Regions from separate parts of the Homo sapiens genome. Here region 2 is linked to region 1. The links are contacts of gene promoters, found by promoter capture Hi-C in blood cells and fetal thymus (Javierre and others, 2016). All regions are on one chromosome and are shown on one strand. The core of a region is centred on a gene start or on the middle of the fragment in contact, and the rest is flanking DNA. Distances in the headings are between cores, read along the strand shown. Region 1 holds the start of GPR84 (G protein-coupled receptor 84). Region 2 overlaps HNRNPA1 (heterogeneous nuclear ribonucleoprotein A1).

Evidence for each region. The method cuts DNA at HindIII sites, captures the fragments that hold promoters and counts their contacts. A CHiCAGO score of 5 or more calls a contact.
Region 2: a fragment that was not itself captured here is called in contact with the fragment with the promoter of GPR84 in region 1 in 17 of 17 cell types (monocytes, fetal thymus, naive CD8 T cells and 14 more); the score reaches 12.8 in monocytes.

The regions. Positions count from the first base shown.
Region 1 is chr12:54,361,148-54,368,909 of GRCh38, reverse strand. It overlaps GPR84 (G protein-coupled receptor 84), which reads left to right and starts at 4,424. Exons shown (of 2, transcript NM_020370.3): 1 at 4,424-4,517; 2 at 5,051-6,465. The coding sequence starts at 5,059. The coding sequence ends at 6,249. The region is part of intron 1 of GPR84-AS1 (GPR84, ZNF385A, ITGA5 and GTSF1 antisense RNA 1); the gene reads right to left. RefSeq lists an enhancer at 4,406-4,495. The HindIII fragment of the contact is 7,569 bases long and covers 1-5,438 here.
Region 2 is chr12:54,283,717-54,291,478 of GRCh38, reverse strand. HNRNPA1 (heterogeneous nuclear ribonucleoprotein A1) reads right to left here. Exons shown (of 11, transcript NM_031157.4): 9 at 7,512-7,667; 10 at 7,162-7,221; 11 at 4,392-6,930. The coding sequence ends at 7,166. Among named protein-coding and RNA genes, the nearest start is that of HNRNPA1, 6.9 kb to the right of the region's middle. The HindIII fragment of the contact is 6,133 bases long and covers 153-6,285 here.

The DNA of each region.
Region 1 (7,762 bases), core at 3,175-5,674:
ATCATTTCTAGTCCAAGTCTGGGACTGCAGCTGCAGCTGTTGAGAATTTGCCACAACTCCACAAGGCGGCGCCAACGACCCGGAAAAGGAGTCTAAGCCCGAGGCTAAGCCGCTCCTGTAATGTGTTTCGAGATTCCACGCAGATGGGTCTAGACTCAGTCTCAGACAAAGAAAAGAATCCAGGCTTTTGTGTGTCTGGTGGGAAACCCACGCCAGCGAGACTCAAGGCACAGGAAGAAACGGGGGGCAGAGACTGGGGATCTGAGCTCTAGGCTCTGGCCCCACATAAATAGTGACCTTGAGTCAGTCCTTGCCCTCTCTGGACCTCAGTGTCACAGTCTTCAAAATAAGGAGACTTGAGTCTTTCAAAGGTTCATTAAGATCTCATGTATCCAAGACTGAAGAACTGAGACTGTGCCATTTACAGATATACTGGAATACCTTCTCAACTGGCCCCTAAATGGTCTGTGGAACAGGGAAACACTGTTCAGCTGTCTCTCACATGGTATGTGAGGAAAATGGTTTCTCCGTTATCTCCAAAATGTGGTTCAACCATACACTCCCAAGAGCAGCCAGTAATCCTGACCCCCTCTATCCCTACTGAGAGGCAGGAAGTTCAAACAAAAAAGCCCAAACCAAAACCCAGAATCTATGTGAGTTCCTCCCGACTTTCATCTCTGCTCACTTCCCCCACTCTACCCACTTCCCAGTCTTGCAGAAGAAAGGAGGAGGGAAGTTGGGATGATGTCTGTTAAACAGGAAAGAGAGGGGAATGGGGGACTCCTGGGTTTGTCAACTGTGAGGCTGAAAGGAGGGTGTTCACTGTGGGTTCAGAATTGGAACCCAATAAGGAGTGTTTTGGTGTTTGTTTGCATGTTTGTTTCCAGGTAAATCTAGCTTTAAAAGGGGTGGGAGGATTCAGAAGGATGCGGGACAAGAGAGGCCCTATAGAAGAGTGGGTAGAGAAAAGCAGGGGCTGGGTCACATGTGGGGAAGGAGATAGGGACTGGAAGAAATTGGGGTTAGAGAGTCTGGGATCCTAGCAGACCCCACAAGTACTTCAAGTCTGCTAGTTTAAAACTGAATTCATTATTTACCCCTTTCCCTAAGCCTGCTCCTCCTCCCACATTTCCTATCTTATTAAGAGCACCACCATCTGTCTGGAAAACAGAAAGTTATCCTAGTTCCTCCTTCTTCCTAACTCTTCATCCAATGAATCACTAAATAAGTCCTATTTGACCTCCTAACAACCTATGGATCCTTATCATTCCTCCATTCCCACAACCACTGCCCTAACCAGGACTGGCTCCATAATTTGTGGGACCCAGTGCAAAATGAAAAAGCAGAGCCCCTTATTCAAAAAGTATAGTATTAAGAATTTAAAAACAGTGATTGACGAGCATTTAACCAAGCACCAGGCCCTTCAAACTGCAAGGCCCTATGCAGTTGTACAGGTGGTCTGGCCCTAACTTAGGGCCATTCTATCTCTCGTCTGAACTAGTGCCTCTTTACCCATTTCGCTCACTCCCAGGCTGCACGCCTTCATTCTTTACTCACAGCAATCTAAGTGCAAATCTCACCAACTCCTTCAGCATGAAACCAGCTCCTTAGCACGATACACAAGGTCCCCCTTGACCCTGCCTGCTCAACTCTCCAAGCTCTTCTCTGTTGTTCTCTACCTCATGCCCTTTGTTGGCTTCTACCTGAACCTCTGCGCCTCTACACATACTGTTCTCTTTGTCTAGAATGTCCCTCTACTTATCTCCCAAAAAACTCTCCTGTTCATCATTCAGAATGCAGCTCAGTAACCTCTCTGTGAACCCTTTCCTCACCTCCTACTTAATAGTATGCTCCTTTTCTCTAAGCCTCTGATATATCATTCTGGGTTGTTTTGTTTTGTTTTGTTTTGTTTTTTGAGAAAGAGTTTTTGCTCTGTTGCCCAGGCTGGGGTGCAGTGGTGCAACCTCGGCTCACTGCAACCTCCGCCTCCTGGGTTCAAGCGATTCTCCTGTCTCAGCCTCCCAAGTAGCCAGGATTACAGGTGCGCACCACCACGCCTGGCTAATTTTTGTATTTTTAGTAGAGACGGGGTTTCATCATATTGGCCAGGCTGGTCTCGAACTCTTGACCTCAAGTGATCTGCCCGCCTTGGTCTCCCAAAGTGCTGGGATTACAGGTGTGAGCCACTGCACCCAGCCATGTATTTTTTGTTTGTTTTTTGTTTGTTTTTGAGACGGAGTCTCGCACTGTCACCTGGGCTGAAGTGCAGTGGCGCGATCTCGGCTCACTGCAACCTCCACCTCCTAGGTTCAAGAGATTCTCCTGCCTCAGTCTCCCAAGTAGCTGGCATTACAGGTGCCTGCCACCACACCCAGCTAATTTTTTGTATTTTTAGTAGAGACGGGGTTTCATCATATTGGCCAGGCTGGTCTTGAACTCCTGACCTCAAGTGATCTGCCCGCCTTGGCCTGCCAAAGTGCTGGGATTACAGGTGTGAGCCACTGCACCCAGCGATGTATTTTTTGTTTGTTTTTTGTTTGTTTGTTTTTGAGACGGAGTCTCACACTGTCGCCCGGGCTGAGGTGCAGTGGCACCATCTCGACTCATTGCAACCTCTACCTCCTAGGTTCAAGCGATTCTCCTGCCTCAGCCTCCCAAGTACCTGGGATTACAGGCGCCTGCCACCACGCCCAGCTAATTTTTTGTATTTTTAGTAGAGACGGGGTTTCACTATGTTGGCCAGGCTAGTCTCGAACACCTGACCTCATGATCCACCTGCCTCGGCCTCCCAAAGTGCTGGCATTAGAGGCATGAGCCACTGCGCCCAGCCTGTTAGTTTGTTTTTCTAATTTTTCAGAGACAACGTCCTGCTGTGTCACCCAGGCTGGAGTATAGTGGCACAATCTTTCTCACTGTAGTCTTGACCTCCCAGACTCAAATGATCCTCCCACCTCAGCCTCCCCAGTAGCTGGGACTACAGGTGCACATCACCACAGCTGGCTATTTTTTTTTTTATTGTAAAGACAGGGTCTCACTATGTTGCCCAGGCTGGTCTTAAACTCCTGACCTGAAGTCATCCTCCCAGCTCAGCCTCCCAAAGCATTGGGATTACAGGCATGAGCCTCCAAGCCAGGCCTATATAGTATTTTAAAGCAAGCCTCAGCAAACTTTTTCTCAAAGGGCCTGATTATAAATATTTTAAACTGTGTTAATCAAGAGATAAAACTGAGGATATTACATAGGCACTTATATAACAATTTAAAATATAACCATTTTTATTTTACTTACTTATTTATTTATTATTTTATTTTTTGAGACGGAGTCTTGCTCTGTCATCCAGGCTGGAGTGCAGTGGTGCAATGTGATCTTGGCTAACTGCAAGCAACCTCCGCCTCCCGGGTTCAAGCGATTCTCTTGCCTCAGCCTCCCTAGTAGCTGGGATTACAGGCGCACCCATCACGCCTGGCTAATTTTTGTATTTTTAGTAGAGACGGGGTTTTACCATGTTGGCCAGGCTGGTCTCGAACTCCTGACCTCAAGTGATCTGCCCTCCTTGGCCTCCCAAAATGTTGGGATAATGGGCGTGAGCCACTGCACCTGGCCTAAAATATAACCATTTTTAAATGGAAAAAAAACATGATTGGGTCACAGGCTATACAAAAACAGCAGACTAGATTTGGCCCATAGGGTGAAGTTTACTCACCCTTGCTCTGGAGAATCGATTAAGCATTTGCATATTTATGTATCTGTCTCCCCTAGTAGACTATGCACAAGGCCATATATCAGACGTTCTTGTATCCCCAGTGTCTAGATCAGAGTCTGGTGTATAGTAGGCACTCAGTACTAAGTTGTTGGGTAAATGGATAAATGAATGATTGAACAGGACCCTGATCCCTTGAGGAGAATGAAACCAGAATTCTGGATGCCTCATTCCCCACTTTTCTTCATCTGACTTGGTTTCTCAAATGTGCTAGGGTGTCACATGGGTCCCTCTGACTTGAACCATGTCTAAGCCGTGGAGACAAGAAAGGTAGTGCTCCTCTGAAACAAACCCAAGGCTTCTGGGGGTACCTAAAGTTGCTCCTGGAACTTGGTCTTATCTTTTGGCCCTTTGAGGAGTGGCCCAAATGTTCTGATGCTCTGACTCCGTGCCCTAGCAATTCTTGGCAATGATCTTACAGATGAGTTCTGCCATGCAAAGAGGGGAAGAAAACAGAGTTTGGGTTTCAGGAAGGAGAAAGGAAGAGTGAAACCACTCTGAGGTAAGTAGCGGGGGACTTTCAACAGAGAAGCCTAGATTTCACTAGCCGAAGCAAAATGAGTAGGACCGGAGGTGGTGAAGGAAGTGGCTGGGATTGGGTAATGGGGGAGTTTCTTATTCTTTCAGTGGACTATAATAGGATACATAAGAGCAGGATGTCTCCTGCTTGAAGCCTAACTGTCCACCAGAAAGGACTGCTCTTTGGGTGAGTTGAACTTCTTCCATTATAGAAAGAATTGAAGGCTGAGAAACTCAGGTAAGCACTTTTGTTGTGGGTATACTTTTACCTTCTTGGTCTCCTCATCTCCCAGGTGGTAACAAACAGAAATGACTAAAGCCTATATGTGTGTGTAGTGGAAAGGAGCAGAGGGAACTGAATACAGAGAGGATCCTGAATACACGATGCTGAATAGAGAGAGGGGACTCCTGGGGGTCTTTGGGGATGGGGAAGGAATTAAAAAAGTTGGAGGGCACTGGGTTTACTGAGAGCAGCGGGATGGATATAGAAGAGGACTGAGGTTTGGAGCAGAATAAGACTAAGATATTTAGGCAAGAGATATTTAGATAAAAACTTGGGGAAATATTTGAGAATGGGAAAGGACTAAGAGAACCTAAGGAGAGAGTTAGGGATCTTGAGATGAAGAGGCCTGGGAATGGTTCAGGAGGATACTGAATTAAGGTGAGGTCCAGGAACAGTTTAGATGTCCAGGGTCCCAGAACTGTTCAAGAGATCTAAGTTGAATGCTAGGTTCTGATTCCCTCTTCCTCTTCCACCCTCTGCCTCTTTAGCCTCTATCATGTGGAACAGCTCTGACGCCAACTTCTCCTGCTACCATGAGTCTGTGCTGGGCTATCGTTATGTTGCAGTTAGCTGGGGGGTGGTGGTGGCTGTGACAGGCACCGTGGGCAATGTGCTCACCCTACTGGCCTTGGCCATCCAGCCCAAGCTCCGTACCCGATTCAACCTGCTCATAGCCAACCTCACACTGGCTGATCTCCTCTACTGCACGCTCCTTCAGCCCTTCTCTGTGGACACCTACCTCCACCTGCACTGGCGCACCGGTGCCACCTTCTGCAGGGTATTTGGGCTCCTCCTTTTTGCCTCCAATTCTGTCTCCATCCTGACCCTCTGCCTCATCGCACTGGGACGCTACCTCCTCATTGCCCACCCTAAGCTTTTTCCCCAAGTTTTCAGTGCCAAGGGGATAGTGCTGGCACTGGTGAGCACCTGGGTTGTGGGCGTGGCCAGCTTTGCTCCCCTCTGGCCTATTTATATCCTGGTACCTGTAGTCTGCACCTGCAGCTTTGACCGCATCCGAGGCCGGCCTTACACCACCATCCTCATGGGCATCTACTTTGTGCTTGGGCTCAGCAGTGTTGGCATCTTCTATTGCCTCATCCACCGCCAGGTCAAACGAGCAGCACAGGCACTGGACCAATACAAGTTGCGACAGGCAAGCATCCACTCCAACCATGTGGCCAGGACTGATGAGGCCATGCCTGGTCGTTTCCAGGAGCTGGACAGCAGGTTAGCATCAGGAGGACCCAGTGAGGGGATTTCATCTGAGCCAGTCAGTGCTGCCACCACCCAGACCCTGGAAGGGGACTCATCAGAAGTGGGAGACCAGATCAACAGCAAGAGAGCTAAGCAGATGGCAGAGAAAAGCCCTCCAGAAGCATCTGCCAAAGCCCAGCCAATTAAAGGAGCCAGAAGAGCTCCGGATTCTTCATCGGAATTTGGGAAGGTGACTCGAATGTGTTTTGCTGTGTTCCTCTGCTTTGCCCTGAGCTACATCCCCTTCTTGCTGCTCAACATTCTGGATGCCAGAGTCCAGGCTCCCCGGGTGGTCCACATGCTTGCTGCCAACCTCACCTGGCTCAATGGTTGCATCAACCCTGTGCTCTATGCAGCCATGAACCGCCAATTCCGCCAAGCATATGGCTCCATTTTAAAAAGAGGGCCCCGGAGTTTCCATAGGCTCCATTAGAACTGTGACCCTAGTCACCAGAATTCAGGACTGTCTCCTCCAGGACCAAAGTGGCCAGGTAATAGGAGAATAGGTGAAATAACACATGTGGGCATTTTCACAACAATCTCTCCCCAGCCTCCCAAATCAAGTCTCTCCATCACTTGATCAATGTTTCAGCCCTAGACTGCCCAAGGAGTATTATTAATTATTAATAAATGAATTCTGTGCTTTTAATGCTCAGGTGTGGTCTCTGGGGAAGAAGGAAACAGGTCACGGTTAGGCTCAGGGGCCAGGCTAGGAGGAGACCATACTATTCCATCCCTCCTGCATGACGAAATCCTGTCACCATGTGCATGCTCACACATATCCCTAAAGCACCTGTGGCCACCAGGAGCTGGAACCTAATACCTAAGGATTCAGGGGTACCTAGGTCAAAGCAGGAGCAGGAAGCAGCTGGCCTGGGACATAGCCTTTAGAAGAGGGGTTTCTAGGTAATAAAACATGTGAGGTGATTTAAGAGGATTAGCCTGCCTTTTTGTTTAATTTCCCAGAAATGGCCTCTGCCCCTAACCACTGCTGCCAGGATCCGCCATCCCTACAAACAAGTTTATTCAGCTCAAAAAAGTTTTATAATCCAGCTTTGATATCTACTCCAGTGGGACCAGTCCCCCAGCCCTCACTCTGTGCGAAGGGAATGGTCATGGAGGAGGACTCCTTGGTCTGTAGAAATGGAACTGAGCTTAGTTAAGGCAAAGGCAGAAAAAGGTTCCAGCTGCCCTGGCAGGGTCCTGCCCATGGGGCTAATTCACCTGAGTCCCAGGCCCTCAGTTGCCTTGCATTTGTCATCTGGACTTATGAAAGCAAGAGAACAGGCCTGGTGGGGTGTCTCACACTTGTAATCCTAGCACTTTGGGAGGCGGAGGTGGGCAGATCACCTAAGGTCAGGAGTTCAAGACCAGCCTGGCCAACGTGGTGAAACCCCGTCTCTACTAAAATACAAAAATTATGGGCCAGGCACGGTGGCTCATGCCTGTAATCCCAGCACTGTGGGAGGCAGAGGCAGGTGGATCACCTGAGGTCAGGAGTTCGAGACCAGCCTGACCAACACAGAGAAACCCCATCTCTACTAAAAATAGAAAAATTAGCCCGGCATGGTGGCGCATGCCTGTGATCCCAGCTACTCAGAAGGCTGAGGCAGGAGAATCGCTTGAACCCGGGAGGTGGAGGGTACAGTGAGCCGAGATCACGCCATTGCACTCCAGCCTGGGCAACAAGAGTGAAACTCTGTCTCAAAATAATAATAATAAATAAATAAAATAAAATACAAAAATTAACCGGGCATGATGGCGGGTGCCTGTAATCCCAGCTACTCGGGAGGCTGAGACGGGAGAATCGCTTGAACCCAGGAGACAGTGGTTGCAGTGAACCGAGATCGCGCCACTGCACTCCGGCCTGGGTGGCTGAGCGAGACTCTGTCTCAAACAAAAAAAAAAGAAAAGAAAAAGAAAGCAGGAAAACAAAGACTCTAGTT
Region 2 (7,762 bases), core at 1,970-4,469, 76 kb after region 1:
GGATGCCCATAGGCCTTTCTTTTTTTCTTCCCCTCCTGCTTACCTCTCAGCCTGGGTCCTCCTAATGTGCCAGAGTTCTCTCAGAAGACTGAATGGGCTGTTCTTGGCTGGAATTTATACATCAAAATTTCAGAAGATTTCACACCGAAGCTTTGGTAAAACCTGCTCCACAGTGGAGTAAACTATTTATTCCTGTGAAACGTTTTCTCTGATTATGTTAGACAAACACTACCCAGATCTTTTTTTTTTCTTTTTTCTTTTTTTTGAAAGAGAGTTTTGCTCTTGTTGCCCAGGCTGGAGTGCAATGACACGATCTTGGCTCACCGCGACCTCCACCTCCTGGGTTCAAGTGATTCTCCTGCCTCAGCCTTCGGAGAAGCTGGGATTACAGACATGCACCACCATGCCCATCTAATTTTGTATTTTTAGTAGAGACAGGGGTTTCTCCATGTTGGTCAGGCTGGTCTTGAACTCCTGACCTCAGGTGATCCATCCGCCTCAGCCTCCTAAAGTGCCGGGATTACAGGAGTGAGCCACCGTGCCCGGCCAACACTACCCAATTCTTGTTTTGGGGCCCTCCTTTTCTAGATCCTTAAAGATTTTTTTGTTTGTTTTCTTTGAGACGGAGTTTCGCTCTTGTTGCCCATGCTGGAGTACAATGGCGTGATCTCAGCTCATCACAACCTCTTTCTCCCGGGTTCAAGTGATTCTCCTGCCTCAGTCTCCCAAGTAGCTGGGATTACAGGCATCCACCACTATGCCCAGCTAATTTTGCATTTTTAGTAGAGATGGGGTTTCTCCATGTTGGCCAAGCTGGTTTTGAACTCCCGACCTCAGGTGATCTGCCTGCCTCAGCCTCCCAAAGTGCTGGGATTACAGGCTTGAGCCACCACGCCTGGCTTTTTTTTTTTTTTTGAGACAGAGTCTCGCTCTGTCGCCTAGGCTAGAGTGCAGTGGCGCGATCTCAGCTCATTGCAACCTCAACCTCCACCTTCTCTGCCTCAGCCTCCTGAGTAACTGGGATTACAGGCGCCCGCCACCATGCCTGGCTATTGTTTTGTATTTTTAGTAGAGATGGGTTTCACCATGTTGGCCAGGCTAGTTTCGAACTCCTGACCTCAAATGATCTGCCTGCCTCGGCCTCCCAAAGTGTTGGGATTACAGGCGTGAGCCACTGTGCGCAGCCTAGATATTTTTTATTAGTCTATTTTGCTTCTTCTTGAAACAGAATATAATTCACTAAGTTTCAGATTCCTTACCCATATCAGTTAAAGTCCAGTCAAACCTCCCTGACAGGACACAATCTCCTTGCTTGGAGTTGTATAGTCTCCAGTATTCCCAGTCACTGAATTACACAGCTTACCTTTTCAGAAGATTTTACATTTACTTTTTATTCAATTTTACTAGCTCCATTCCAACATTAAAACCTTACATCCAAGTTCTGATCTGGACACCGCAGGCTGAGGTGGGAGGACTGCTTGAGCCCAGGAGCTTGAGACGAGCCTGGACAATATAGGGAGACCCTGTTTCTACAAAAAAAAAATTAGTGGGTGGGTACAGTGGCATATGCCTGTGGTCCCAGCTATGTTGGAAGCTGAGGTGAGAGAATTGCTTGAGCCTGGGAGTTCGAGGCTACAGTGAGCCAAGATCATGCTACTGTACTCCAGCCTGGGCGACAGAGCGAGACTGTCTCAAACAAAAATGGACACCACAGATACTGAGACCTAAAAGCAGCACAGTGATTAGGGAGATATGGAGTGTGGTCTCTAGCCTAAGTTTAGGGAACAAAAACAACTTGAAGCACTTCCTTTTTTTTTTGAGATGGAGTCTCTGTCGCCCAGGCTTGAGTGCAGTGGGCTGATCTCAGCCCACCTTAGCCTCCTGAGTAGCTAGGACTAAAGGCGCATGCCACCATGCCTGGCTAATATTTGTTAGTAGGGATGGGTTTCACCATGTTGGTCAGGCTGGTCTCCAACTCCTGGGCTCAAGCAATCTGCACACCTCGGCCTTCCAAAGTGCTAGGATTACAGGCATGAGGCATCCAATGTTTCCACATTGTTTTTTTTTGTTTTGTTTTGTTTTTTTTTGAGACAGCGTCTCTCGCTCTGTCGCCCAGGCTGGAGTGCAGCAGTAGGGTCTTGGCTCACTGCAACCTCCGCTTCCCAGGTTCAAGCAATTCTCCTGCCTCAGCCTCCCAAGTAGCTGGGATTACAGGCACCTGCCACCATGCCCAGCTAATTTTGGCATTTTTAGTAGAGACGGGCTTTTCACCATGTTGGCCAGGCTGGTTTCAAACTCCTGACCTCAAGTGACCCTCCCGCCTAGGCCTCCCAGAGTGCTGGGATTACAGGTGTTGAGCTACTGTACCTGGCAATGTTTCCACATTTCTTTCTTTTTTTTTTTTGAGACGGAGTCTTGCTCTGTCGCCCAGGCTAGAGTGTAGTGGCACGATCTCGGCTCACTGCAACCTTTGCCTCCTGGGTTCAAGTAATTCTCCTGACTCAGCCTCCAGAGTAGCTGCGATTATAGGCGTGCGCCACCATGTCCCGCTAATGTTTGTATTTTTTTTGGGCAGGGGGGACAGAGTCTCGCTCTGTCACCCAGGCTGGAGAGCAGTAGCGCGATCTCGGCTGACTGCAACCTCCGACTCCCCGGTTCAAGCAATTCTTCTGCCCCACCCTCCTGAGTAGCTGGGACTACAGGCGCCCGCTGCCACGCCCGGCTATTTTTTTGTACTTTTTTAGCAGAGACGGGGTTTCACCGTGTTGCCCAGGCTGGCAACCCGCCCACCTTGGCCTCCCAGGTAGGATTACAGGCATGAGCCACCGCGCCTGGCCAATTTTTGTATTTTTAGTAGAGATGGGGTTTCACTATGTTGGCCAGGCTGGTCTGGCACTCCTGACATCGTGATCCACCCGCCTCGCCCTCCCAAAGTGTTGGGATTACAAGCATGAGCCATCGCGCCCGGCCATCTTGTTTCCACATTTCAAGCTGCAAAGGCAGGGGCTTGGGCTAGCTGTTCAGAAATTTAATTAGTTTACCTAAGAGACGTCAGATCCCCCTGCTCTCATGAAAATCACTAGTGAGGTCTTATACACACACATACTTGTTCAGCGTGCTGACCTAAACAAGGTGGAACATAGTTTGAAAATAGAGCAATCTGAGTTATATGATCCAGTGGTTGCAGGAACTTGGGACAGGATTTTATCTTCAGCCTATTTCCTCATTTAGAAAATAATGGAATTTACTTTTCACAGTATTATAATAAAGTATATAGCAAAGTACATGGACTGAAACAATGTTTCTCTTCAATAGGAATGCTTTTAGGAAACTATCCTTAGGAGTTTTCCTTTCCCTTCAAGGAAATTTGATTGTCTACAATAAAAACCTCTAGCAAATGCCAAGTCACAAACTGAGACCCCTGACATTACTTCCCCCAAGTATCAAAAGGCTAATGGAACTTAGTCCCATATACAGTTGTTTCAAAACAGCATGGGTGTTAAAAGGCAAAAATTTCCCAAGAATCCTACCTCCACTTTTGTTAGGCTCAAAACTGAGGCTGGATAAACTTTCCTTGAAAATAACAGAAACAGTTTAGTGGCCAGGCACGGTGGCTCACACCTCTAATCCCAGCACTTTGGAAGGCCAAGGTGGGCGTTTATTACCTAAGGCCAGGAGTTCAAGACCAGCCTGGGCAATACGGTGAAACGCTGTGTCTCTACTAAAAATACAATTAGCCAGGCACCTCTAGTCCCACCTACACGGGAGGTTGAGGCAGAATTGCTTGAACCTGGGAGGCAGAGGTTGCAGTGAGCAGAGTGTCACTGCACTCCAGTCTGGGTGACAGAGGGACACTTCGTCACACACACACACACACGCAAGAACCTAAGCATTTGCTAGAGGGTACAATTATTGCTTCCAAAATAGTCCTTACATTTTTAGGCTATCTTTGAGAGGCTAAGTCTTGCCTCTCATTCAGTTCACTTTCTTACTCCTGGCTTGAGAATTCTACTGAAGTATGAGACAGCTGGCCAATAAGCCCAACTTGTTTGCCAAAGATGAAATCCATTATGTCCTTCTGCAACAGATGGTGAGCGTAAGTCCCAATAGAGACATACTGAGCTCAATGGCAGTGCTACAACTTGATTTTCCCTTGCCAGGGGAGCTAGAAAAAGGACATGCTCAATTGGATCAATAGTAAAGTTTACTTATAGTGAGCCAAGAATTACTCCTGTAGTGAGAACCCATTTCTATTTTCATTAAACCATGAAGCTGAATGGGATGAATCTAAATATAGAAATTCACATTAGAATCAACCATATCCTCTCTAACCTGAATTTCAACATGTTATTAACCATAGATATCACAAAGGAGGACAAAACAAGCAGAACTAAGTTAAATACAGTTTATTAAAAAAAAAAACCCATTCACAAAATGGAATTTGAGCTGCAGAACAGCTCATGTAAACTGCATGGCAGTGATAACGAAGTACAGTGGCTCAGATAAAGGTCTTCACAAGGACGTTCCTGCAAAAGGCAAAAGAGGTTGTAAAGTATTCATATAAGCAGAGGTGAATGACTACACAGTTATATCCACTGTCACTACTGGGAATACCTGGTTGGCTAATAACTCTTTTTGCAATTGGATGAGATTACGAAGTGTTTTGGTTTAAGGTACAGCTTGTCATTCTTTTACTTTGGGAACGCAGGGCATTCTTTTGCTGAGCACTAATTTGTAAAAACTTACCTTTCTGCCACGAACTTGGACAGATGAGTTTCTGTTTTTAAGAGCTGATAAGACTAGTAGCAGACTCCTCCCTAGAAAAGTAAACAACCTTTAGAACTAGCTCTAAGACCAAGTCCCATCTCAAGCTAAACCCCCCATACCTCCCATTAATAACCCACCCATCCCCCCACCATTTGGGGAAGTCTATTACTTTGAGCCATTATTTTAAGGAAATGGGTCAAAGGAAGATAAATAAAAGGGCAAAAATTTATATTCACAGTACAAATAATGTGCTCACTTCCTTCAACTGGGAGCCATCAATAGGGTGTCAATTTAAAACAATTCATCTCCAGAAAAACCAAGTTCAGCTTAACTGGACTAGTTTTGGCTCAATATATTAAGAAAAATGTTTAACAGAAAACTGGACTTTAAGTAACTATATGGATGTAAGTAAAATCTGTTCTTACCTACCCGCATAGCAATAAAACCTTTCCTCCTGGTTCTGACTGCTAGTCCTAAGAGTCAGGTGTGCCTTACTCTTGTCTGCCTCCTTCCTTGCGATGATCACTGATATTTCACTCCCTCCTAGCTTTCATGGAGCGTGCCGTGGCCTGCCCCTGGCTTATCTGTACTCCACATACCACAAGTGTCTACTCTCAGCTGTAGAGTGTCTGAGCTCGGAGCCATTCGCGCTATACTTGCTAGCAGTTCCTAGTAGCTGAACATCTCTCCTGGATCTTTAAAGGCATTGTCACGAATCCTGAGGTATCTGCAAACTCCCTCAATAGTTAGGGTTCCACCTGCTATTGCAAACTCAGCCAGTATCATGGAACTATCACCCATGCTTTCCCACCCACCACCACCTCCCACCCACCTCCCACCACCCTCCTCCTCCCCAAACTTCCAACACACCCATGGGATGGAATATACAGTCCTATTGATAGACAAATCTCTATGCTACTAGGTACAATAGCACTGAAATTGAGAGAGCACCAAAGGTAAGGCTCAAAAGAATCTATGTACAAATAACACATTATTGGATATTAACTGTTAAAGGTTTAGAAATCATTTTCTATACAATTAACATTTTAGGTAGGTTGTGTGACCCCTTGTGCCATAAAGGGAAACTGCAGTTAACATGAAATTATGTAGAAAAATTTAGTTTCTATTGGTATGGTTTGAATCTCCAAATTAATTAGTATAGTTAACTGATAGAACCTCTGAAGGCCCACCCAACCAGAACCCAGTCAAACTGCAGTTTTCCTTTAATGTAAGCCTATCTTTACGTTCATTAAAATGCTTTCTGATATTAGTTATTTTTAAAAGGCCTCCCAGACACTTCAAATCTGCGGATTTATGGAGCGGCATTAGCCAGCAGCTAGTTTCTATTCCCTGGCAGAGCTTTGAACTTGAATTGTGATAGAAGCATTCAACATTATTATCAGGGGGAGTGGGTAGGGAAAGTCCAAATCTCTGCCAGTCCCAAATCCATACAGTTGTCATTTCATTCAAGAGAATTAAATCGTTTATTGATTACACATGATAATGGATACACAAGCTTCATTCCCATCTATAATTTTATCTGGTACCATTATTCAATTTAGATATATTGCATAGGATGTGCCAACAATCACTTTTATAACCATTCCATGATTTTGCTTGGGTAATCCCTTTTAATGGTGAACTTCAGGTCACAACAGTAACTATCAGTTCAACTACACCAAGGTTTCCGAAGACAATGGCTTCTCCACCCAAGCAGGTTGTATATAAATTCCAAATAGAACCTGGCATCACCCTGAAGGAATTCTAACTTCACACTGTTGGGGAAATTTACCAAGATGGCTTAAGAGTAGACTAACTTTACACAGCACATTAAAAAAAAGACATTTATTCAGCGTCACGATCAGACTGTTACATTTAGCAATCAACAGCATGGGGTGCAAAAAAAAAAATCTACATTAAAACCCTTTGTTGGAATGCTTTACACTTTCCACAGAACAGAAACTAAAATAACCTGTTATACAATTAGTCACAAATACAGTCCTCGAGTTTTTTGCCCATACACATGAGTATTTGTCTAAAACATGTCTTCTTTGTAGCAGCTAGGCCCTGCCACCACTGTGCTTGGCTGAGTTCACAAATCTGTTGTAACCTGTAGCTTCCCTGTCACTTCTCTGGCTCTCCTCTCCTGCTAAGCTTTGTTTCCTGTTGAACAATATGGAATAAAGTTGTTAATCTAAACATATTAAGACTCAAGGCTACAATCCAATATCAAGTTTGTTTCCCACAAATTTTGCTGATCTGAATATTAACTTTATATCCACAATTACTGCAATTATAATGTTAACTATGTTGCACTGCTCAGCTACATTAGGGTTATTGGGTTCATCAGCAATTTAAAAAATTATGTCAACACACAAAAAGGTGCTTACTTACCTAATTAAAATCTTCTGCCACTGCCATAGCTACTGCTGCTGCTGGAACCGCCATAGCCACCTGAAAAGTACAATTTTTCTTTTAAAGTTTCAAAGTGCCAACAGTAATGTTTTCATATTTGGGATAATAAAAGTTAAATTCAAGTGTCTGGCCATTTAAAAATGGCCCTACTACAAGGGAGGTGGTAAAGAGGTCCCATGATTTTTCTAATTTGTGATCAAATTATCACTTTCTGAAGGTTCTAAACTATAAACGTTTTGCTGCCCAGACATAGCAGTTAAAGGGCTTTCTTCCCAGCAGTAGCTACAGACACTCTTTTGACATTATCCAAAATTACATAGATACCATACCTTGGTTTCGTGGTTTTGCAAAGTATTGGCCTCCACCGCCATAGGGGCCAGAGCTTCTGCCTCCAAAATTTCCTCCCTTCATGGGTCCAAAATTTGAAGACTGATTGTTGTAATTCCCAAAATCATTGTAGCTTCCACCACCTCCAAAATTGCTTCCTATGAATGGGAAAGAGGGCCTTTATCTGTTACCTGAGGATGATGTTAGTTTCCAATTCTGTTTAGCAGTCAGAATAAAATAAGGTTGAGTTATC